4 separate regions of the Homo sapiens genome follow, and regions 1, 2 and 4 are each linked to region 3. Evidence: promoter capture Hi-C in 16 types of primary human blood cells and fetal thymus (Javierre and others, 2016). All regions are on one chromosome and are shown on one strand. The core of a region is centred on a gene start or on the middle of the fragment in contact, and the rest is flanking DNA. Distances in the headings are between cores, read along the strand shown.

Region 1 (6,808 bases), core at 566-3,065, 3.4 Mb before region 3:
TGTGTGTGTGTGTGTGTGTGTGTGTGTGTGTGTGTGTGTGTGTGTGTAGTAGGGAGGAGAGGACCAAACAGATGAACAAGACACAGCTGCTGCCCTCTAGGATCTCACAGTCTAGCAGTAACATTAAGAGCTTTTGTGATCGCTCCACTTTACCCACAGGTGTCTCCACTTTCAGAACAGCAGTCAAGGGCAGGTGGCCTCCATGGCTATATACACCTGTTACACTTTCAATGAGGAAACTGATTGCAGGAAAAACTGCAAGGAAAGGAAATGTTAAAAATCTTTACAGTTTCCAGTAGGTAGAAATTGAGATTGGCATCGGAGAACTGAAGGCCACTTTTTTAATTATTTAAGGAATTACGAAAATATTTAGGGTTCTGTTCTGAGTTGCTTTGGGATCCTTAACCGAGATGAAGAAAACTGAAGAAATCAGGAAAAGGTAAGAAAGTTCTGTCTGAACGTACGTTTAGGGAAAAACGGGGTGCAGAGAGCATAAGCTCCTTAGAGCCCTGGATCATACGCTATTTCTTCAGCATCCACACTTCCCGGCTTCTTTCGTGTACTTTACATATTCAGGTTGGGCTGAATTAAGGTGTAGTCATTTCCCCAGATCTTATTTTACACAGGAGAGCTGAGCTGGTGAAGGGAGGTGGGGAACCACAGTGGCCTCACCTTTTGTGCCAGTGAACGTACTCAGGTGGATCTCATCCTCTAAATTCAAGGTCAGACCATTTCCTTTATGAACTTTAGAGGAGATGAAAAAGAAGATGGAGTAAGGAGAGTGGAAGTCTGGGGAGAGCGGAAGAGCAAGGAGCAGCAAGAGCAGGATGAGGAGATGGTTGGAACCCAATCAGATGGTGGTGGCCAGCCCGCTTCAGCCTAGTGGACACTTGGAGGTGGGCTCACACCTTGATAGAGCCCAATCTGAATGCTTTCCAACCTCTTCTTTGTAAAATAACTAGGAGTGGCTGCAATTTTAAAAGTAGCTGCCCACCGATTGGTAATGTCAAATTTAGCAGTCCTCAATTCTGAAGAGGTTTATATGTCTGATGGAAAGAGACAAGTAGACAAACAGGAGGCAACATGACACAGCATGAGGCACCCAAGAGCTGCATCAGGGATATGTCTAGATCAGTGTTTCTCAAGTTTTAAAACTTTTTCCCACAAAAAAGTCTTTTTAGGCATATTTTCCTAATTGTCCTCTGCCCAGGAAATGTTAATGCCACAGATATATTACATATATGTTTATGAACTGTGCACATAGCTGTGTTTTATACATTTAAAAAGTAAGGTTCCTCTCACCCTCCCCCCCGAGAAACAATTCTCCCCTCTTGGGGACAATATCACCCCCCCTTGAGAATTCATGTCTAGATGACTTTTAAGACCTAGGAATTGCTGAGTTGGAACAGAGGTCATTGTACCCAATATTGTATACAGATGGGCTTAGGAATCTAACAGACCTGGCCTTGAATTCCACTTCTGCCACTTCCTAATTCTGTGACCCTGGGCAACTTACAAACATATCTTGAGTTTTAGTTTCCATATCTATCTTATCTATATTAAAGACTATTTAGATTAAAAAGTAAAGAAAGTTAAGTGCTTTGCACATTGCTTGACACCTGGCCGATGATCAGAGTGGATGTTCTTTCTAGTTATTTGCCAGGCTGTTTTCCCCATTCTCTGCATAGAACACTAAATGAACACCAAATGAAGTGAAGTATGTGCTACTTAGGTCAAGGAGTGATACAAATGTGAGCAACAATTTGCAGAGATTTGTTTTTTCTTCTTAAAGAATCTCACCATTAAAGAGCATGACAACTTTATTCTCTAAAGGGATTTGCTCACCTGGGATCCTTGGGCCATTGGGAAGCTCTGTCTCCGCTTCCTCTCACCAGCCTGTCCTTACTTTGGAGAGGAGGCTGCAGACCGCTTCAAAATGTTAAAAACAAAGAAACGACACTCAGATGAACCGTAGTCTAGAAGAAAATTAGTTTCTCTTCAGTTGTGTTTCCTTAGCCTAAGGTGACTCTGTACATGGGTAATGGGAAAAAGCAAAAAAAGAGAAAAGAAAAAAGAGTGATTGAGGAACAGTTCTAAAGAGATGAACAAAAGCAGAAAAGTGCCTCCTTCACAGTGCTGGTGGTGTCTAGGAAGGAGCTTAAGGTGGCAGTCATTTTCTAAATGAGGTGTTTAAATATATCAGCTCTCAATTTTTAGGAGATGGGGAGATGATGCATTTGGATAATCCAGGACGCTTGCTTTTCTTTTACCCATTAGACATCAGAATTTTTGCCATATTACAAAGTCTTAAAAGTCTGAGACCTGAAAGGACTTTGAGGTAACAACTACAGTTTTTTTGATAAATTAGTTGAGAAAACTGAGACCCCACCAAAGAGGTTAAGTTATTTACTCAAGGTCACATGGCCTGTGAGTAGCAGACTGATGTACATACCCAGGTTTTCTGATCCCAGATCTACTGGGCTTTTGGTTCCAAGGTAGCAGTTAGTAAAACTAGGACTCGGAAAAAGCACAGGGTGTGGAGTCCAGTTGACTGGGACATGGATATAGCTCTTCCCCTTATCAGAAAGGTAGCTTTAGAAAAATCATTTAATCAGGGTTGTTTCTGATAAATAACAGCATTGTGGAACAGCAAAATTCTACCTGAGGAGCAAATATATCTGCACATTGTAGGTGCTTCATCAGTGAGACCGTATCTCAAACTTCAAACCCAGGTCTCTTGGTTGGTTCCCAGAATATTGATTGGCCCCTTTGATTGGAGGCCTCTCAAATGGGTCCTAATAAATTTACATCTGTGTCAATTTTTATCATAAGAAGTTTGTCAATATCATACATTATAAGAAAAATGCATATTAAAACCATAATGATATATCACTTTTCCTACTGATTAACTTGGCAATTGCAAAAAGTTTGATAGTAAATTTTGTTGGGAAGTATTTGGGAGAAACAGGCACATGCATAGTTTGGAGTATTAACTGATATCACCCATTCAGGGGGTGACTTGGCAATATCTATCACAATTTAAGGTGCACATATTCTGTAACCCAGCAGCTTCACTTTCACAGATATGTCTACACATATCCAAAATGCCTTATCATTGCAGCGTTATTGGAACACAACCTACATATTCATTTAAAAATTAGTTAAATATATTATGGTACACCTATACAATGGAGTATTATAAGGCCTCAGGGAAGAATGAACCAGCTTTACATATACTGCTCTGGAACCATGTCTAAGATGTATTGTCAAGTGAAAAAGAAAGCTACAGACTGATATGTATACTATGATATGGTTTGTGGTATAAAGGTTGTGGATACACATATGCTTACTTATGCATGGGCTATCTATGGAAGGATACAGAAGAAATTCAGGAGAGGAGAACTGGGGAATTGGAAGACAAGAGTGAGAATGCGACTACTGCTTGGTATCCCTTTTGGAACCTTCTGAGATTGGCTCCATGTATATGTATTACCCATTTAAAAAAATAAACACAAAGCCAAAAGAAAGCCCAGCCATGCAAAATACTTGTGGTCTCCGGTGCTGGCACAGGCTGTCCTCCTGCCCACCTACTCTAATCTGCTTGGCTAACCTTCTGTGGCTCTCTAACCTCTTGGATCTTCACCTTGGCTCTTTCTCTTGATTTCCAATACCTACCACCAACCTCCTTTATCCTGATGATTCATTGCAGAAGCACACTTCTGGCTTCTATCGGCTGGCACTCTCTCCTGGACACGAGGTTATGAATGCTCTCTGGCTCTGTGGAGTTAGGCTTGCTGGAGCTGCCCACTCCTGATCAGGCCAGCTAGGTCACTAGTTAGCATATACATCCTGGCTCCAGACACTGCCTATGTACAAGGAGAAAATGGTCTCCTTGTTTGTCCATTGCATAGAGGTACAAGCAGAGCTGCCTATGGCAACATTTTACCTTTGATTGGTCGGGGACATCTTGGTTTCTTCATTTACTTGTTTCCTCATTGGTTGATCTGTTGGTTCTTTTTTCAGTCATTCAGTCAATACTTCTGAATGAGAGGAACACAAGCTACAGTCCCAAGGGATTAGTATTAAGAGTATACCTCCAAATTTCATATTCCTCCATTTTCCTTTTCTCCAACCCAATGGATAATTTAGATTTTAATATATCCTGATAGCATGAGACAATAATTAAAGCTATTGCCAACTCAATATGTTGTATGAACAGTGGCAGCTGTGAGGATTGATAGGACCTCCCTTTCACCCTCACTAGCTAGAAGGATCTACAAGGTACAACAAAGAGGCATTCAGTTTAATGACATTTGCAGATGAGCCTTATTTCCCTTGGCTGATTTTTTTTTGAATCAGTAATTCTTATTATTGAGTATTTTCAGGGTTTCAATTCTCTCAGAGGGCACCTTGGGAGGAACAATGAATGCCTTTGGCCAATTGACCACTTTCTGTCTTCAACCACCTGGGACCCAGGATGAGGTTAGAAGTACTGCCAGGGACCCCATCAATATTGAAAAATGCCTCTGGCCTGATTAAGCTTTGGAAACGCCTCCATTGATTCTATTCAAATATTTATCGAACACCTACCTCAGACCTGGTACCCTAATTGACCTCAGAAAAGTCACCTTTGCCCAAGACTAGGAGGAGGAAGTATACAGGAATGCTGGGTGGAAAAAGGAAATTCCTTATGGGTTGACTGAAAAATAGGTTAGTTCAGGTCCAAGCAGAGAAGGATCCAGGAGAAACAAACATTGGGTCTAAGAACAATGATAAGGGTTTATGGCCCTTGTTACCAGCTAGATGATCTGACCTGAACTGGAATCCAAGAAGTAAAGAAAGTCTTTAGAGTGGCAGCAGATACAAGCAATGACCTTCACAAAATCACCTTTCTGAGACACCATCTTGAACGACTGCACAGAAAAAAGCATTACAGTCTCTTGACTTGTCCTATAGAAAATATTTTTCAAGGAGACAGTGTTAAATTTAGTATTTCAGAGTACAGACTTGAGGCTGGGCTTGGTGGTCACACTTGTAATATCAGCATTTTGAGACTCCAAGGTGGGAGGATTTCTTGAGGCCAGGAGTTGGAGACCAGCCTAGGCAATATAGTGAGACTTCATCTCAACAAAACATTAAAAAAAAAATAGCCAGGCATAGTGGCATCCATCTGTAATCCTAGCAATTTAGGAGGCTGAGGTGGGAGGATCACTTGAGCCAAACAGGAGTTTGAGGCTGCAATGAGCTATAATCATGCCAATGCACTCCAGCCTGGCTGACAAAGCAAGACCTTTCTCTATAACAAAACAAACAAACAAATAAGGACTCTGGAGACACACTACCTACCTGGGTCTGGATCCAGGCTTTACCTCCAAGTTTGCTTAGCCTCTCTGTGCCTCCCAATCCTCATCTGTAAGATGGAAATATGATAGGACTCATCATATGTGCTTGTTTCAGGACAAAATGAGTAAAGAACTGAGCTGGCACCAGAACCCTAGTGAGTCCTCAAAAATACAGTTAACTGTGGCAAGTTTTGCCCTTCTGAAAATGACCATGTCTTCCAAGGAGTGGGATTGTTAATTTGCCTAGTTTTGAATTTTGTGCTTTGAAATTTTTGCACTGCCAAATACTTTTTTTCCTATTCTGTGGATTTGCTTTGTTGTCCTTTCCACATCATTTTTTGCTCTCACAGAATTTATGCAAACAAAGGCAGCCACATGGTCTGTAGTCCCTGAAATGCGTTACTGATGTACATGTGCTCCTTAAGTTCAAGGAGGAGCCATTATTACTGGCTTAAAATGTCATGAAGAGGTTGCAGCTGAAAATCCCTGGGGTCAGGAATGATTTGTTTCAATTTTTTACCTGTTTCCTATTGCAAGTATCATTAATAATGTTGACTAAATCATTATCTTTGCAAAAGCCTGCCGAAATTATCTTTTCCCTGAACTTGTGTTTGTATGAATACTGTTGAAATAATTTCTTCATGAAATACAAATTTCTCATGTTTATTTAAAATGGTTTGCATTCGTGCACAAATTGACATCGCCTGAGGAGAAAGCCAAATAAAGACCTTATCAACAAGAAGGCTTTTGAATTTGCCCTCAAGATAGTGACAGTTACCAGGAATATATCTGTCCAATTCTGTCATTTGCAGAACTTAAGTATGCAACAAGTTGTCATTGGCTTTGTCCATTTTTCTGTCCCCACAATACTTCTTGTCCTCTGAATTGATCCTAGTAACTTTCCAATAAATTCCATTTTTGCAATCGAATTGCAGTTCTGACCATATGGACCTATTCAGACTTTTGTAACATTCCATTTCCAAATGATTTTCGGCCAATTCAGTTCAAGCTGCAAATCAAATCTAACCTCTGTAATGAAAAGAACTGCAGAGAAAACCGTTTTCCAATTGTCCCTCAGAACCATTCCTTAAAGGACCTCCCACTTTCAGGCCAATAATAATTTTCACAAACATACCCATGGTCATGCTTTTTGATTTCATAATCGGCTTTGTTTAAATGAAACTGGGGGAACAATGTAGGTTCTTTTGCCCAGCCCCATGCAGTGGAAGAAAGGGTCCCCTATTATCTCCACAGCTGCCGTTGCCCTGACAGCAGCAGGTTGGTTATCCTAGTACCTCTAGGTGGCAGTGCAGCCCAAGACAACGTACTGGATCCTTGTCTTCCTCCCCTCCCCCTCTCTCTGGGTTGGCAGCACAGGTTGGATTGGCATACAGGGAAAATAATCATTAAAAATAAATGCAATCAAAAGAAGTAGGTTATTATAGTGGCGCATTGGAACTGCTTTT
Region 2 (6,563 bases), core at 976-3,475, 3.1 Mb after region 3:
CCAGGCTCTTTGTGTGTGTTTTTTTTTTTGAGACAGACTCTCGCTCTGTCACCCAGGCTGGAGTGCAGTGGTGCAATCTCGGCTCACTGCAACCTCCGCCTCCCGGGTTCAAGCAATTCTCCGTCTCAGCCTCCCGAGTAGCTGGGATTACAGGCGCCTAGCCACCACGCCCAGCTAATTTTTGAATTTTTAGTAGAGACACCATCTTGGCCAGGCTGGTCTTGAACTCCTGACCTCGTGATCCACCCGCCTGGGCCTCCCAAAGTGCCGGGATTACAGGTGTGAGCCACTGCGCCCGGCCCTCTTTGTGTTCTAAAAAGGAAAAAATATGAGCCAATATTTAAAATCAGGCTTTACATTTTTTATTTTTAAGTAAAAGTTCTCAGCTATTCGTGGAAAAAAAAAAAAAAAAAAAAAGCTGCCTACACTGTATGGCTGAATGGGAATTCCTGCATGGATACTCGGTGGAAATGGCCAATATCCACCCAGCCTTAGCAGGTTCCTCTGCAGTCACCTGGGCCCAACCAAGCACTCTTGTGCATTACCTGTTTAGTCCATGTGGATAAAGTGGATTTTGTGATCCCAGTTTTAGGGAAAAACGTTTTTCTTACTGTTAAGCAATTCAATTACAAACGGAAAAGGAGTAACTCCTTAAAAAGTGAGTGGAAGCATTGCTATCATTAATCAAGAATGAACTATAATTAATGAAGGATAGAATCTAGTACAAACTTGGGGCCAAGGCTAAGGAGATCCTTTACAGGGCCAAGTTGAAGGACGGGCAGAGGAGGTGGCAGTGACCGTCAAACCCTCATCATGAAATGGAAAAAATATCAACCTCTCGGCCAATAAAACTTTTTAAAAGTAAATTCATAGTTTGGTATATTGTATTTTAAAATAAAGGAGTTTGCCATTTCTAAGAAATCAGTTTCCCAAAACTACCATTTTAAGGGCCCGAAAAAAATTCCTTTAAGAAAAAGCAGGTATCTACACAGTCTGAGTTTTCCTCCCTGCTAGAACTGAAATCTGTTACGAAAGCCTCCAGCAGGGGGGCCTGCCTGGAATTGCCTAAGCTCCTAGCAGGTAATTTACACTGATCTTTAAAAACTACTAAGCCCTCCTCCTCCCCTCTATAAAACAAACCGGCCTTTCAGAACAGCTCTGGAAGGGGGGCAGAATGCCAGACGAAGAGACAACTTCCAGACCACGTCTCTCACCTCCCACCCATCAAATTCAGCCCACAAAAAGCTGTGGCCGCATTCTCATCTCAAGGCACCACGGCTTTCTTTGAACACCATATATCTTCCCAATTGGCCTCTTGCCCCATTATGTGTAAAAAACCGACTCTCTTTTCTGCAGAAAGAAATAACAAGGCAAAGGGTGTACAGGGCAACGTTTATATGCATCTACAGCATGCCAGGTGCCTACAGAACCTACCTCGGCCTAGGCGGTCCGTGCCCTAGCCGGGATCTGCAGGCGCCCTCATCCACGCTGGGAGACGGGAAGAGGAGAGGGAGGCGTGACAGGCGAGGGTGCCTGTGCTGCGCAGAAAGCGCTGCCAGGAGAAAAGAAGCAGTGAGCAAGGGCTTCTTCCATTTCAAAAACCTAATAACCAAAACTTGGAGGAATCTGCCTGAGATACTTAAAAAAAAGAGGAAAGAGAAACCTAGGAGGGGGTAAAATGCTTTTAAGACGAATCACTTGTTTTCGTAATAGACCCTGCGCGCGAGTTTCCTAGACTGCCGCGAGAAGAAGGAAAGCGAGGGAGCAGGAAAGGAGAGGCTTCGGAGCCCCTAAACTAACGTCTCTTTTCTTATTAGTAATAGTTTGCTCCAGGGTGAGTCATTTATTATCCTAGCGTTGGCCTCTTTATCAGTAAAGTAGGGGTGAAAATGCATCTTAGCCGGGCTGGCGTTAGGATTCAATGAAGTTAAATGAAGTTAAGCCCCTGGCACCCATGGGATGGCAGCGAGTCTGTTCGTTCCCTGCCTATCCACGCCCGCAGCCAACCCCTCCGACATCTAAGCTACACGGACCAGGGGCAAGAGGCCAGAAAGTGACTTTCAGGGGACACGGGGCACCGGCGTCCCAGCCCCACTGAGCGGACGGAAAATGAAGGTGGAAGGAAGAGGCGCCGCTCCATTCCGGTCCCGGGCGCACCCCGGTTCTGCTTCCTCCTCCGCGGGGGAGCCCAGCCCGCCCGGGGCCACGGGGCACTGGCTGAGAGCCGGCTCCCTCCCACCCATCCTTCTCAGCCTTCCCCCACCGCCGGGCGGCCGAGCAGGGGAACACGAGGGAGAGCCGGTTACCTGGAGTGGGCGTCTGACCCCGGAGTCTCAGGAGGATGCCCAGCCGCTCCTGCTCCACCAAGCTCCCGCCCCGCGCCGCGCTCTAGGCGCTCCGGAGCTGCGCCTGCAGCCCTCACACCAGCGTGGCCCGCCCCGGGGCCGCCCCCAGAGGCCCCGCCTTTCTAGGCCCCGCCCACCACGTCCCCGCCTCGCCCACCTGCGCGAGCTCGGGGCTGGGGACTTGCTGCGGACTCGCGGTTCCCGCCTACAGGCGAGGGCGCCCTCTGGGCACTGACGTGGTCTGGGAGTAGCGCTGCGATCCTAGTGCTTCCTCGCTCCTCTTCCTCACTGTGCTCTGATTCTTAAGAGGTGTGTGAGCGGCGTCTTTTTAAACATTTTATGCCTCCCTTCCTCGAAAGCAGGAAACTCGAGAAATGCTGCCTTTTCTGATTTTAAACATGAAAATATGTTACAGAACAACAATAAAATTAAATTCCAAGGTTCTCGATATGTAAAGTTTAGAGATAACCATGTAGGTGTTTTTTTCTCTCCCCTAACGAACCTTGCTTCCTAAATTTAGCATTTAAGAACTCATTACATTCATGTGTATTTCCACATAAAAATTAAGATCAAATTAAACTGTGGAACAATCCACAGTGCTGTGGAAAGTAGGAAAAAACCTTCCCCGCCCTTATAGCACAGATCTTTGTGTCAGTTATAAAAGTTGACACAGTTCTCTTTGTAACAAGGGGAATATTGTGTCTGTGTCTTCTTTCGTTGGATTTTTAGCTCCTAGAAAACAGAACGAGGTCTTATTTGTTTCCATGTTGTTTAAAAAAAATTCTGGCCGGGCGCGGTGGCTCACGCCTGTAATCCCAGCACTTTGGGAGGCCGAGGCGGGCGGATCACCAGGTCAGGAGATCGAGACCATCCTGGCTAACATGGTGAAACCGCGTCTCTACTAAATATACAAAAAATTAGCCAGGCGTGGTGGCGGGCGCCTGTAGTCCCAGCTACTCGGGAGGCTGAGTCAGGAGAATGGCGTGAACCCGGGAGGCGGAGCTTGCAGTGAGCCGAGATCGTGTCACTGCACTCCAGCCTGGGCAACAGAGCGAGACTCCATCTCAAAAAAAAAAAAAAAAAAAAAAAAATCCAACTCAGAGGCCATTAGACTGTGATATGTTTGACACTTGCCTGATTTGTCAACAAAAATTAACATAAGATGATGGTATAGAGGAAGAAAGACTTCCCCTCTACTCTCTGAGGCTTGGATAACTAAGTCTATGAAATAAATTGACTGCAGGTAGATTAACAAGAGAAAAAGTACACAGATTTCGTGTAGGGGGTATCACAGAAAAGAAAAACTAATATTCCCTCTGCCTCCCCCAACAAAAACTGAGATTTTAGGAGCTTGTGTATCCTCTTCATTGGGGAGGGACAATTTAGGGGAGAGGAAATGATTTTGGGAAAAACTCCTGAACTCCTTCAATGGCTAGCTTTGTTTAATATCTCATGAAATTTTTCATGAGCAATTCAAGCATAATTGTTAAGAGCAAGTAGATTAGGTAAATGTAAATGGAATAAAAGTTTATAAACTTTTAAAAATAATTTGTTTTATAAAATTTGTCTACTTAAAAATAGTTTTAAAAATCTTTTTTGGTGACTTGAAATTTCGAACATATTAAATTAAGTAATAGATATTCATTAAATGTCTGAGTCATTTGTAAGTTAAAATACTGACATGTTAATTGCTAAACATAAGTTTAAAGTATAGCCGGGGCTGGGCACAGTGGCTCATGCCTGTAATTCCAGCACTTTGGGAGGCCGAGGTGGGTGGATCACCTGAAGTCAGGAGTTTGAGTCCAGCCTGGCCAACATACCAAAACCCCGTCTCTACTAAAAATACAAAAATTAGCCAGCTGCGGTGGCGTGTGCCTGCAGTCCCAGCTACTCAGGAGGCTGAGGCATGAGAATCGCTTGAACCCGGGAGGTGGAGGTTGCAGTGAGCTGAGATCGTGCCACTGCACTCTGGCCTGCGTGACAAAGCAAGGCTCCATCTCAAAAATAAATAAATTAATTAATTAAAAATAAAATATAGCTGGCTGTTTGCAATGGCTCACGCTTGTAATTCCAACACTTTAGGAAGCCGAGGTACAAGTATCACTTGAGCCTGGGAGTTTGAGATCAGCCTGGGCAGCATAGCCAGACCTCACCTCTACAAAATAAAAATAGATAAATTAACCAGGGGTGGTGGCCAAGCAATAGATTTATGAATTAACTTTTGGAATATATCTTGTTTGTCAGTTGGATACTGCCTGTATACCATAAGTGTAATCCATTTTGTTTGTGTATGTGACAGGGTCTCACTCTGTTACTCAGGCTGGAGCACAGTGGCGCAATCACAGCTCACTGCAGCCTCAACTTACCCCTGCTCAGGTGATTCTCTCACCTCAACCTCCCAAGTAGCTGGGACTACAGGTGTGTGCCACCATGCCCGGTAATTTTTTGGTATTTTTTGTAGAGATAGGGTTTCACCATGTTGCCCAGGCTGGGTTTGAACTCCCACGCTCAAGCGATCCACCCACCTCAGTCTCCCATAATGCTGGGATTACAGGTGTGAGCCACCTTGCCCAGCCCACTTATTTTTAATGCCTGCAATAACATACACCCATAAATCTATACAAGTAGTTTAGAAGGTATTTCTGGAATGCTTAGGGGTGTATCAGTCAGGGCCCAGTCAGAAAACAGAAATCACAGCAATTACTTTTACAGAGAATTTAAGGTCATGAAGATTGGCAAGGCAAAAACATTGTAGTAACAGAGAGAGAGTAACTGCAGGAAGCAGCTGCCATGCACAGAGCTGGGGAGAGGGGAAGTGTTGGGGTTATCAGAACCTAACAGCCAGGAGAGGGCCCCTGGTTGGCTGGGAGTCAGACCTCAAAGGAGGGGGCGGTACCCAGCTGGTGCTTTTATCTCTGAAGGTAAATATTGAGGCTGGATGGGAGAGGGTGGATTAAAACAAACAAACAAATCTAAGAAACTGGAACCAGCTGTTGCTGCAGCCAGGGAGAAGAGCCATTGCTTGGTAACATGGACAGGAACAGTAAGCAGCTATAAAGTAGCAAGTCCCTCTCCTCAAGCACCCCTTATAAGCAAAACCTTATAGGAAATGTGATTTGCTAAGTCCCAGCCCTGGCTCACAAAGCAGAAGATAGAAGCTTGAGTTTGAACTCTAAGACATACTTCAATAACCAGCACAAGGAGCAAACTCATGATCACAAACACCCAACTCTCCTAATATTATAGATGTGGGAAAGTGTCTGATAAACACAGCTGTCATAGTAATGATTAATACAATAGCAATATATTCTTAAAATGTCATAATAAAACTATAGTTACAAGTACAATCAAATAACGGGACAGAGGCAGGGCATGGTGGCTTATGCCTGTAATCCCAGCACTTCGGGAGGCCGAGGTGGGCAGATCACTTGAGGTAAGGAGTTCGAGTTCCAGCCTAGCCAACATGGCGAAACCCCGTCTCTACTAAAAATATAAAAATTAGCTGGGTGCGGTGGCACATGCCTGTAATCCTAGCTACTGGGGAGGCTGAGGCACGAGAATCGGTTGAATCTGGGAGGCGGAGGTTCCAGTGAGCCAAGATCATGCCACTGCACTCCAGCCTGGGTGACAGAGCAAGATTCCATCTCAAAAATAGATAAATAAATAAGAATAAATTAAAAAAAAAGTAAGGGGATGGTGTTGCTTGACCTATACTTTGTGTTACTGGAGACCAGTGAACATCCTCTCCCGGCTGTATTTTCTGAGAAACCACTAACTACATAGAACCACCTTTCCCCAAATGACTTAGGTAATCATCATGGATAACATCCTTTCACACTTACAACAAGGCCATAGACATGCGCTCCAAATTTCCATTCTCATCTTATAAATGGTTAGCTGAACCATTTGCCCCTACTGATCAATCTGGGCAAATACCTTACTTGATCAAACTTCAATGAGGCTTTTCTCCTTCCATCAGGTCTTTGCCCTTTAATCTAGTCTCAGCCTAAACCAGCATTGGAATTTGGAATAAGCCCCTTAATGTCCTGTATTAGTCTGCTTTCACATTGCTATAAAGACATTTCTGAGACTGGATGATTTATAAAGAAAAGAGGTTTAAAGGCTGGGTGCGGTGGCTCACGCCTGTAATCTCAGCACTCTGGGAGGCTGAGGCGGGCGAATCACAAGGTTAGGAGTTCGAGACCAGCCTGACCAACA
Region 3 (6,777 bases), core at 3,354-5,853:
AAGGCGCCACACAATTTAATTTTACTGTTTAATATTTTCCAAGAAAAGCTCTTTCACAAGACAAGTTTGCAATGCCCAAAATACATAAAGCAACTCTTTCAGAAGAATAACAAGAGGATTTTAAAATTTAGCATCCTGCTTTTGAAAGTGTACAGAGTTTAATATGTATTCAGACTTTTTAAAATAACATTTTTAAATTATAAAAATTAGGATAATATGAAAGAAAGATGGGGAGCCACACATGAAAAAACAGCATTTTCTTCACTACCCAGACTTTTAAATACAGGTAGCCACAACGGCTTGCAGAATAAAACTGCAAAACATACAATTTTCTTTTCATAGTGTCCCAGTATTACTGTCATTTAAAATGGTTATAAAGAAATAACTTACCTGCTTGTGCATTTCTATATTCAACCCATAGGACATTTCATAATACTGTCAAAGAAGGAAAAGCAATTAAATGCATGACTTTCATCAAACAATCTCCCTAGTTTGTTCAAAATGCCCCAAGTAAATCTGAAACAAACATAAAAGCCTCACCTAAACCAGTATCTTCATATAACCTATGCCAATAAATCAAGAGCCCATCACTATCTTTAACCACCTTAAGACACAAATTCTAAGAGAAAACACACAAAACTAAGAAAAATTAAATTCAAACACAGCATTCTTAACATCTCCAGTTTCTTTATACATCCCAAGCAGATGCATCAAAAAAGTCTGATGAAAATTTGGTATCCTACGGACTCTTAATTCCTAAGCACAGCAGGCAAGTTAACAGCAAAGAATGCCTTATACAAACGCTGATGTTTTGAAAGGAAGGTTGGAAAAGGTGATGCTACTTAGAGTTTGATTTCTGATTTGTTAGTGTACTGCTCATATTCACACATTCAAAGCAAAAAAGCTAGATAGAAAAATAAATGAGTGGGTTATTCTGGAGCTTTCTTGGACAATCATAAAAATATGCTTCATAATACTTCTGTAAAAGCAGATCTGGTTTTTTGAACGTGTAGTATAACTGGCATAGAAATTCTGGCAGAACACATCAGTTATACAGGAGACTACAACATTCCTCAAACCAATATAACACTACAGAAATTGAAAACATACAAATATTAATGTAATAGTAACATAAAGAGAAAAAAATTTGAAAAATGGTCTGCTGTCTTTCCTTATCCATCACTCCTTTTCAAAGAAATAAAACATTATTTTTTAATAATGTCTTTAATAATAAGACATTTACAATGTTAACAGCATACAGAAAAACTGGCAAAAATTGTTTGGAGCAAGAGCAATAAAACAACAAAGAAAGCCACTAACACAAAAACATTTTTGCTTGTGACAAAACAAACAAGGTTTTGTTTTTATTTTTTTTCGATCTGTAAAAACAAAGCACAGAAAATTATACCCCATGTGGCTGAACTTTCTGAAAATTCCAATCAAAGCCAGTTGTCAAAGGCAAGTTATAACAGCCTAGAATTACAGGTTGCTAATAGACATATTCCCACAACTTCAACTGCACTGGCAGGGTGACTGTGATCTATCTTGCAGCCCCCAGCAATTTAAACATATTCTTGTTTTTGGTATTCCAAACTAATAGGCACTTTGAATCTGTGACATGGTTTTCTTACCATGACATAATGCCGCTGCATCTCTGTCTTCTCACTGGCGAGTTTCTCACATTCCAGCTTCAGACTGTTCAAGACATAAGATACTCTAAGTACAATGATCTTAACTTACATCCTTCAACTCTTAAACGCATATTCTAAATCTCACCTACAAACAACTAAATCAACAATCTTAAATAAATACCCCCATCATTATGGAAAGGGAAGGGGAAAGGGGTGATTGGAACCAGTCTGGACTTGCCCCTTCAATAAGGATCATATATGTGGTTTTTTGTTTTTAGGATTTTTTTTTTAATTAAGTTTTAAGGAAACAAATCCTCTAATCAGTTTAATTCAGGAACTTCCTCCAGAATTGAATATTCACTTAATAAAACAAACACGAAAATAAACTTCAATAATGACTGCACATACAAGCACAAATAAGTCCTCCAAAACGTCACAAGGGAATTTCTTTAATGTTCTACAAAGAGATTAATGAAAATATGAATCAAGCATGTCTTATGAATGATATCTTGTTTTTTTCCCTCCAAAACACACAGACAAGTTGAATACCACCACCCAGGGGCAAAGTGTCAATCGGGTTCAGTGGTTTGTTTTGGTTCTTGCATTTATGAAATAAGAATTAGGCATCATTAAAAAGCCAGCTAAAGAAAAATGTCTCAAAGGCACCCTAAGTCTAAAAATCGTCTATAAGATGAAAACATTTTTTTTTTTTTTAGCATAAAAGTAATGAAATCGCTCACTCCGACTTCCCTGGGCTCTCAGCTCTTCAGTGGAATGGCAGAAAAAAGTGAGAAGGAATCAAGTCCGGAGTAATAAAGAACCAAGGATGTCAAAAGGCCCCAGAATCTTCCCAACCTTTCATTCTCCCGGCCCCAATAAATCAATATCGAAAGTTTGGCCTCAGCGTTTTCCAAGTCTCCCCAGTTTCGATTGTTCTGCCTTCTTTTTATTTACGGTAGAAGAAATGTTTAATTTATTTACACCTGCCTAAGGAAGGAGGCCTTGATTTGCCCTTTCTGCCCACCGAGAAAAAAAAATAATACCTTTGTGACGCCCCCACAAAAAAGGAGGAGGGTAAGTGTTTGTGTGTATTTGTCGGGGAGACAAGAGCTAAGCAAACAGAAGGATCAGCTAAAGTCAATATCGTTACCTGTGGTATTGAGCCTGTAAAAACTGAAACTCTTCCTTAATCCGATCACAGGATTCGGAAATTGTAAATTTAAAGGGTTGAGCAGGCTGATGCGGTGCCTGAAGAACAACAATAAAATATTTAATTAGCCCACATCACAGGCGAAGCAGGGAGACGGAGAAAACCTACTATGCGGCGTTAGCGGGGGGTGAGGGTCATCGCGCACGCAAGCAAAGAGAGATTAAAACTCTCCTCCCGCAACCCTCCTCGCGCCCAACAGCCCAGGCAGAGGCTGGTTTCGAGGTGGTCCTGGGGCCCCGCATACTCCCGCCCGCAGGCCCCCGCGCCCCGGACCCCGAGGGTTCGAGTCCCGTCTCCCCTCCCCGGCCAAAGACAGGCACCCAGGGACCCGCGCGCCGCGCCCACTCCCTCCTCACCCGGAATCGAAACTGGCCCGTCGGGGGGACCCGCGCCATGGCGTCGGGCTGCGGTCAGGCCGGGGGAGGAGGGAGGCGGCCGCCACCCTCTCGGCTCGTTCGTTCGCCCGCTCGCCCCGGCGGCCCGCGGCGCGAGGGGCCGGCGCCCCGCACTTCCAAACCGCAGCCAGCCCAGCAGCGCCGCTGCCGAGGGCGCCCTCCCCGCCCGGGCGCGGAGTCGCGCCTCCTTCATCGCTCGCCACCCCCCCTCGAGGAGTCGCGGCGCGGGGACCGCAAACGGCTCGGCGCGGCTTCCAGGGGCTTCAAAGACAACAATAAGAAAATGGCTACAACTCAATTGCCTCTCCGCACCCCCTCCGAGGGCCACCGCGCCGGGGGGTGGGGGTGATGGCGGGCGGGCTGCTCCCGGCGCGGGGCGCCGATTTCGGGCGGCTCTCCACGCCCCTCCGGCCAAAAGACACAACTCGGTGCGCAGGGGGCGACGCGGGGAATCCCCCAGCACCCGGCGAGCCCGCGCCCCGCCGCCCGCACTCACTGGGTGTCTGGTCTGCGGGTACATCTTGCTCAGGTCGCGAATCATCCAAGCCGATTTAGTTGGCTGCGCTCGGCAGAGGCGCGCGGCTCATTGGCTTTAATGACCCCGAAGAGGAGGCGGCCGCGGCAGCGGAGGCGGCCGGCTCGGTCTGAGGGGCGGCTCGGGCGGTCCCGGCCCCCGCCGGGTCTCGCGTGACACGGGCGGCAGGAACGCGCGGCGGCGGCTGGGTGCCGGCTGCCGGGCCGCTCCGCATTCCCCGCGGGCGTCACTGGCCCGCCGCGGGCATTGTCCGGCGCGCGTCTCCCAAGGCAACGCTCCGACGTTCGCTCCGCCGAGGCGCACCCGCCGAGCCCGGCGCCGCGGCCGCCGCTCACCCGGCCGGGAAAGTGCGGGCTCCGCGCCCCACCGCCCGCCGGCAGCTCCTCTCGCTCGCTCTGCGTCCCACTCCAAACTTTTTTTATTTGTCTTTTAATTGGTTGTTATTCCTCCGAATGAATGATCTTTCTTCTTCCCTAAAAGCAAACACAAACTCCTTTGGTTCGGAAGAGGTCTCGGCGGTGCTTTTTGGTTTCTCTGGAGATTTTTTTCACTTCACAGCAACGATCTTTTAAAAGGCACCTTTTAGCTTCTTTTACCACATCTCATTTCCTTATTTCTCTTCCTTCCTGTTTTCTTGTCTTTTTTTTAACCCCAAATTGAAGGGGATTATAAAAATAAAAGAGTGAAACGCTTGCGGCTTTTTTTTTTAATTCTCTCTCCTTTCAAACTCTGCGAACACCACCTCAAAATAATATACAAGTGTGTGAGAAAGGGGGAAGAAAGCAGCCAACAACCCAAACACCCGCTCAGCACAGCTCTAACAACACGCTCTGTGTAGGTGACTTCTTTGACCAAATTTAGCAGCAGCTAATCATTAACATTCTGATACATATTCACAATCTTCCGCGGGGCGGCCGCGCAGCATCCCGGGAGATGTAGTCCGCCCCGGGCGACCCTGCCTGAGAATACGGCCAGATTGACTACAATCACCGGCCCGCCATGCGAGCGCTCTGGCGAGCTCTCCAAGCGCCCCGCCCACCCCCGTTGCGGTAGGCGTCTCCACCAACCAATCAGAGGTGGCTGAACATTAATCGCCGTTCTGTGTTAGTGCCCATCATTTCACTGCTGACAAATGGCAAGCCAGCGGGGAGGAGCCAACCCAGCTGAAACCCACGTGGGGGCCGGGCGTCGCCTGTAGCTCCGACCAATTAACGAAGAGGAATGAGGTTGGCGGAGGCGGGGCGGAGATGGCCCGCCCAAGGCGGAGCTTCGCCTTGGCTGACGTTCCTTAGCGCGAGCGTTCGAACCGGGAAAACATTTGTTCAGCTGTCAATCAAAGTAACGTGGGGCTGGGAGAATCGGCGGCTGCTGCTGTTGCTGCTGCCCTGGCTGCATCTTCAGAATTAGGTGTTGGTGGTGGTGGTGGTGGTGGCGGCAAAATAAAGAGGGTGGAGGGAGCGGTGAGCCTGGGGGCTGGTCAAAAGATCTTCTTCCGAGTCTCGTCCTCCCGCCCACCCGTCTCCCAACCCAGACACCTTCGGCCCCTCGCTCCGCAGCCGCGCCAGGAATGCGGACTAATTAGGGTCCAATGTCTCCTTAAAGAGACAAGCTCGGCCTTGTGTAACGCGCCGAAACCCCTGTTGAGACAAGAGGGGGAGGATCACGCTGATCTTACTTCGTTCGGTTCACATCAATTTTACGCGCCGCTGGAGCCGGCATAATTTTCCGTGTGAACGCGACTCGGTCCCCGTTCTTGTTTAGAGCCAGAAATGGAGTCGCGAGATGCTGGCTGGGGCCGGGGCCGCGGGGTGGGCGGGGAGCTCGTCCCTCCAAGCCCCGCGGGGGCTGTGATTGCCATTTAGTTCCGAAACAGGCCTCCCTCCCTCCACCCCCGGAGGCACTCGGAGAGAAAGCGCATCCCGACGCTCCATCGGGGGTCGCGGGGGGCAGTAACCGTGGGGGCTCCGGGTGGGGCTGAAGATCCGGGAATCAGAGACGCTGGACCTCCAAAGAAACTTTGCCGACTGGGCCACGTGAACCCCGAACACGGTCGGTACTGAACAGAGCAGGCCGACGGGGCACGGGTAGAAAACGCCCCTGCGCGCCCTGGGACGTTCCCTCCCCCAGATCAGTACCAAGACTGCGCCTCTTTTTCCCGCTCTTTGGAGAAGCAAGTCAAGTTTATCCCCGTTAAAAACAGAGCAGGGTGCCACGCGGGCCCGAGAGATGGCGGAAAGGTGGGGGTGGCCCCAGGGGCAGATGCTGGAGGAGGAGAGAAAGGGGCAGCCATGGCTGAGGAGGGGCACCCCTAGGGAGGGGCCTGGGAAATGGGGGCGGCCTCCGTCAGTGCGCCTTTCCATCCTTAGTCCGTGTCCAGCTGGAGGCAGCGCCCCAGTTCAAGGGGAGGCTGCTGAGGCTCGCAGTCTTTTCTAGCGAGCGGCTAATCTTGGGGACAGGGAAAAAATTCGGAAAAAGTCAAGAAGAGTGTTGGCTAATGTAACAGGCTGGGTTTTAGACGTTTATTTCTATGCGTGCTTGCCTACTGTAACTTGACCTGTTGGTTGAGATGGTGCCGCCGGTTCGGCGTTAGTGGAAAACTATTCTTCTTAATGATATCCCTTTCCTCAGTGGATGACTCGGTGACTTAATGTCCAACCTAGCACGTTCTGTGAACCTCCTTCCGTTCTGGCCACTGTAGTGAGCTGGTGCAAAGGAAGGCTATGGTGGTCTTCACCTGCCTCTAATTTCATACTAAAAACCCAGAGCCAAAGTTCACAGAATGTTTCAATTCGGCAAATATTTTCGCCTCCATCCCCAAAATAAGAGGACAGAGAAGTCCTTTTGACAGTTTTCTGAACCTCTGCTGTTCCATACCTAGCCACATGTGACTGTTAAGCACTTGAAATGTGTCCAATTCAAAATGAGATGTGCTGTAAGTACACATATATGTGGCATTTTGAAAAAATTAATGTGAAAAAACTGCAGCTCAATAATTTATAATTATGT
Region 4 (4,578 bases), core at 1-2,500, 4.5 Mb after region 3:
TAATTGTTTTTATTTTCTTTTTTGAAATGAAATGGATGTGAAGAAGAAAGAAACCTGAAAGAATATTCAACCAAATGTAAATAGTGATTATCAGTAGATGACAGGGATGATTCCTATATTTTAGTTATATATTTATTGTTTACCTTTTTCTAAATTTTCTAAAAATAAAAAAATTATATTTTTACTTACAAGCTTTTTTAAAAAAAACAAAATGAATGAGATCAGCCATCCACTTGTAAATATGGGATACTCTAGGTAATATCTGTAGATACATACGTCTTCCCCATTAGACTCAGGACCCTCGTGAATGACACCATAGATTATTGTTCCTGGGAACCCCAGTGTCTAGCACAGGGCCTAATATATGAGCTACATTTATTAAGAAACATTTGTTTAGCAAATGAATTCTGGATATGGCCAAAAACCCAAACAAGGTAACCCTGATCTATCCTCCAGATGGTACAAAAATGGCCAGGGTCTCCCACTAGCATCTGCCCGGGACTTCCCTGGGCAGCCTCCTTCCACAAATCGGCCCCCTGTTGGGGATGTGCTGATCAGCCAGAAAGATGCTATTAGCCTGCATTATAGCTTAATGTCCCTTGTTTTTAATATCTTCCAGCAAGTCCTTTGTCCTTACTCACCTAGCTCCTTTCCTTTTAGTATTGTCTACTGAATTGAGCCATGCTGTTTTGCCCAAATCTTGCTCTGAAAGAAGCTGTAAGAAACATGGCTAGGATGTTCTGTCTTGTATTTCTGCTAGAGATATCCAGGCCACTCCAATACTTTAAGAGAACCCACAGGAAAATCTGTCTCAGATCTCAATGCCATTAAAATAACTACTTTTCAGAGTAAGTGACACATTTTAATTTTATGAGCACTATGAATCTTGAGATTTTTCTCTCTGCTTGCAGCTGAGAGCCAAATCTACAGTGACCTTACTACACATGCAGGTCTGTCTGTAAGCTAGCTTTTCCTCTTGTTTCATCTTACTATTCTTCCCTTCCTCTAGATGACCATGCTTTATCTTTACTTTTTCCTCTCTCTCAGATCATGTGTATTTTTAGAAGTCCTTTTGGAATGAGGCAAGGTTTAAACAAACCAAAAAATTAAATACAACCCCAAAGCCCCCAATCCCATGCTGTCTTTGGAGATTTTTATCCATGCAGCTTGCCTGCAGGACAAGAAAGTAAAGCTCCACACCACTCTCCTTGCTGTCAACCAGGGGCTGACCTTTATGTGCATTTGTGACAAGAAAGTCTGTAGACCAGAGGCCCCTCCCTTTCGACTTCCTGACCACCAGCTCTAAAATACACATTTGACCGCCAGTGTGAATGGAGCACTATGACTTAAGGCAGAATAGCAAATGGTTAAGAGTGCAGACTTTGGCCAGGCACAGTGATCCCACACTTTGGGAAGCGAAGGAGGGTGGATCACAAGGTCAGGAGTTCAAGACCAGCCTGGATCCTGTCTCTACTAAAAATACAAAAAAAAAATTAGCCGGGCATGGTGGCGGGCTGCCTGTAATCCCAGCTGCTCGGGAGGCTGAGGCAGAGAATTGCTTGATCCCGAGAGGCGGAGGTTGCAGTGAGCCGAGATCGCGCCACTGCACTCCAGCCTGGGCAACAGAGCGAGAGTCTGTCTCAAAAAAAAAAAAAAAAAAAAAAGTGCAGACTTCAAAGCCAGACTACCTGGGTTTTAATACTGCCTGCTACATCCCCCACTCTAACTGTTGACTTTAGACAAGTTAAATAACATTTCTGCGCATCTTTATTTCCCCATCTGTGCAACAGGAACAATATAATGGTACTGATCTCATAAGATTGTTGAGAGCAGCAAATGTGTTAACACGTGTAAAGTGACTATACCATTGCCTAACACACAGTAAATGTGGGACAGTACTACGATAGGACATTTCTGTTTTTGTTTTTTGTACTCTGTTGAGACGGGGTCTTGCTATGTTGCCCAGGCTAGTCTCAAACTCCTAGCCTCAAGCAATCCTCCCACCTCAGCCTCATAAAGTGCTAGGATTACAGGCATGGCCCACTGCTCCTGGCCATCGCTTTTTTTTTTTCTTCAACTAAGCTAGCCCACACAAAGTTTCAACTCTGATTGGCAGTAATGTTTCTCACTGTAAATTACTAAACTGGCAAACCCATTTCTATGGTAACTTTGTGTCTGGATCTCATTTGTAAATTAATGTTGATTCAAAATTCCCTTTATCCTGAATCAAGGACCAGATAAAACAAATTAAAATAAAATAAAATGCAAAGTTCCCTCTAAACACCTGTCATGTTTAACCATAAGCTTTCTGATGTGAAGGAGAAAGGAGGTTCCTGGGAATGTATCCACAATTAGTAACAGGATGACCCTTAAACCCCCAAGTGTGAATGAACCCACATGTATACATTACTGTGTACACACACACACACACACACACACACACACACACACCTGTCAATGTCCCTCCATTTGCAATATAGACAGCATTTAATACGCATGAAGAGATTTTTAAAAAGGGCATTCTTTAACGTATTTCAACTGGCAGCAGGTGATCAGAAAAAAATAAGATAAATAAAATATTGTTTAGCTATCAAAGAACAACTCTGCACTGTTAGATACTTAAGGTCCTGATTTGCACCTGAGTTTAGAAAGCTACCTCATACATATGCACTTAAAATGGAAATTTCTCATCAGATTCCACATCTAATGCAATGCAGAACCCAACTCTAGCTGTGCCCCATCTTTGCCCAGGGCAGAGCCAGTCTCAGCAACTTCCTTCACACTCAGCCCACCAAGATGTCAGTCCTCAGTGAAGCACTATTCCACATACGTACGTACATGATTATCAAATAAAGGGACTTCATACTCCAACTGCAGGAACGCAAAGAAACAAAACTAGATAAGTATGAAAGCTATAGAGTTTAGGAAAATCAAGGAAAAAAGTAATCACTGAAACTCATCTCTTGCAAAGAAAGTTACTTCAAAATTTGACGTAAATGGATTAAATTTCAGCATTTCGCTATACCGAAATTACACTATGGGAAGAAAAAACCCAAGAATACATCGGAGCCATTTATCTTCCATTTCCTGTATTTCCCTTAATTACCTACCCAAATGAATGCACGTAAGAGTTGTTAAAGTATTGAAATACGTCAGTCCTTTCTAATTACCTACCCAAATGAATGAGCGGAACAGTATGTTACAACTTTTAATTAAAATACGTCAGTTTCTTTTACAATTATCTTATTTCTGCATATCACAGAAAATATTCTAAGAACAGAGCAAAAATGAACAAGGACAATCCGCCCAGAAAACTGCTTTGAGGAATTTAGTAATCTCAGCCCTCTCAGGTTTAGCACGCCAACGTCTTTGGGAGAGCAAAGGCAAAGGAGATGATAAAATGACACTTCCAAATAGCAACAGCTGAGATCACTGCCGCATCCTAGATTCTTTCCACCAGGAGCGCGAGTATAGGGTTTTTTTCTAAACGCTCTTCCCAAGATCCCGAGGTCAATTTCAAACGCTGCTCCACGCTTAAGTCCCGAGGGAGGCTCGCTCGCCCACCCCACCCTGCAGGGATTGCACTTCCCGTTCGCTCTGGCCGGTCAGGAACCCTAACTTGACAGTGACAAACACTGAGAAAAGAGGAAGTGGCTAAAGATCATTTCATGACATTTTTTAAAGGGAGATCAATGGCCCTGTCTTTCCGGAAAACTTCCATGGGACGTTGCCATCACACCCTCTGAAAGTTTCAGCGAATGACAACGTAGCAAAAGTGAGGGCTACTCCCCTTTAAATATATATATATATATTAATCCTCGAAATCCTCTTGCTATCAAAATCGATCCCTCCTCCGTAACAGCGAACGCAAAACTAAGAGCGCCCATCCCGGTGGGGCCGATCTCGGAAGCCAGGCTCGGGGCCGGGTGCGCGCCGGGTCCTCCCTGCCAAGCTGCAGAGGAGGCGCCGGCACCGCGGCGGTCGCAGGACCTGGCAAGCGCCTACCTTACCTCCCTCACCTGGTTTGACTGGTTTGGGTGGCGGCTTCGACATCTCGCTTCCTGGAGCTGCAAATCCTAAAGACCCCGCCGAAAAGCCCACCGCTTGCCCGCCACCTGGCACTCCGGGCACCCCAGTTCTTTTTGTCTGGCTTACAACCGTGCGCCTCCTAGGACCGGCGCCCACCCTTGGCTGCGGGAAGAGCGGACGCAGGCAGAGCGGCTCCGCCGAGTGCTCCGCCCCGCCCCGCGGCCGCCGGAGCAGTCCAGAGCGCGCGCCGGGCCGACGAGGAAGTGGACCCCGCCTAGCCGAGCGCTAATTGGCTCCCGGGCTGGCAGCTTCGCCGCAGCAGGAGCGCGGGCGGCGCGCACGGCGGCGGAACCAGCCGGAGCCGAGCGAGGGCGAAGCGGGCGTGCGCCAGTGCAGTGCCGCGGGCCGCGCGCGCTCCCGATAGGGAAGGGCCGGAGCTGCGCAGGGGCGCGCGGAAGAGGCCAAGCTAGCCGGAGCCCCGCCCCGCCCCGCCCCGCCCCAACGGGGGCTGGAACCCGGCGCCGAGAGTAGAGAAAAGGGGCCTCTGGT

The links. Contacts are between HindIII fragments. The CHiCAGO score rates a contact against its expected background, and 5 or more counts as called.
Region 1: a fragment that was not itself captured here is called in contact with the fragment with the promoter of TLE4 in region 3 in 1 of 17 cell types (fetal thymus); the score reaches 8.1 in fetal thymus.
Region 2: a contact is called between a fragment that was not itself captured here and the fragment with the promoter of TLE4 in region 3, in 1 of 17 cell types (neutrophils). The highest score is 5.5, in neutrophils.
Region 4: a contact is called between a fragment that was not itself captured here and the fragment with the promoter of TLE4 in region 3, in 1 of 17 cell types (neutrophils). The highest score is 5.7, in neutrophils.

What each region holds. Positions count from the first base shown.
Region 1 is chr9:82,961,546-82,968,353 of GRCh38, reverse strand. No RefSeq gene overlaps it. Among named protein-coding and RNA genes, the nearest start is that of RASEF, 98 kb to the left of the region's middle. The HindIII fragment of the contact is 5,454 bases long and covers 1-4,542 here.
Region 2 is chr9:76,455,049-76,461,611 of GRCh38, reverse strand. It overlaps GCNT1 (glucosaminyl (N-acetyl) transferase 1), which reads right to left and starts at 2,430. Exons shown (of 4, transcript NM_001490.5): 1 at 2,307-2,430; 2 at 1,435-1,552. RefSeq lists silencers at 1,046-1,115, 2,106-2,645 and an enhancer at 1,386-1,495. The HindIII fragment of the contact is 6,561 bases long and covers 1-5,505 here.
Region 3 is chr9:79,569,791-79,576,567 of GRCh38, reverse strand. It overlaps TLE4 (TLE family member 4, transcriptional corepressor), which reads right to left and starts at 4,603. Exons shown (of 20, transcript NM_007005.6): 1 at 3,733-4,603; 2 at 2,782-2,879; 3 at 1,632-1,695; 4 at 391-435. The coding sequence starts at 3,777. RefSeq lists silencers at 2,992-3,231, 3,252-3,721, 3,832-3,991, 4,052-4,171, 6,082-6,131 and enhancers at 3,062-3,674, 4,402-4,491, 4,532-4,581, 4,592-4,721. The HindIII fragment of the contact is 12,449 bases long and covers 1-6,777 here.
Region 4 is chr9:75,088,168-75,092,745 of GRCh38, reverse strand. OSTF1 (osteoclast stimulating factor 1) reads right to left here and starts at 4,232. Exons shown (of 10, transcript NM_012383.5): 1 at 4,020-4,232. The coding sequence starts at 4,053. RefSeq lists silencers at 3,842-3,931, 4,122-4,578. The HindIII fragment of the contact is 2,112 bases long and covers 195-2,306 here.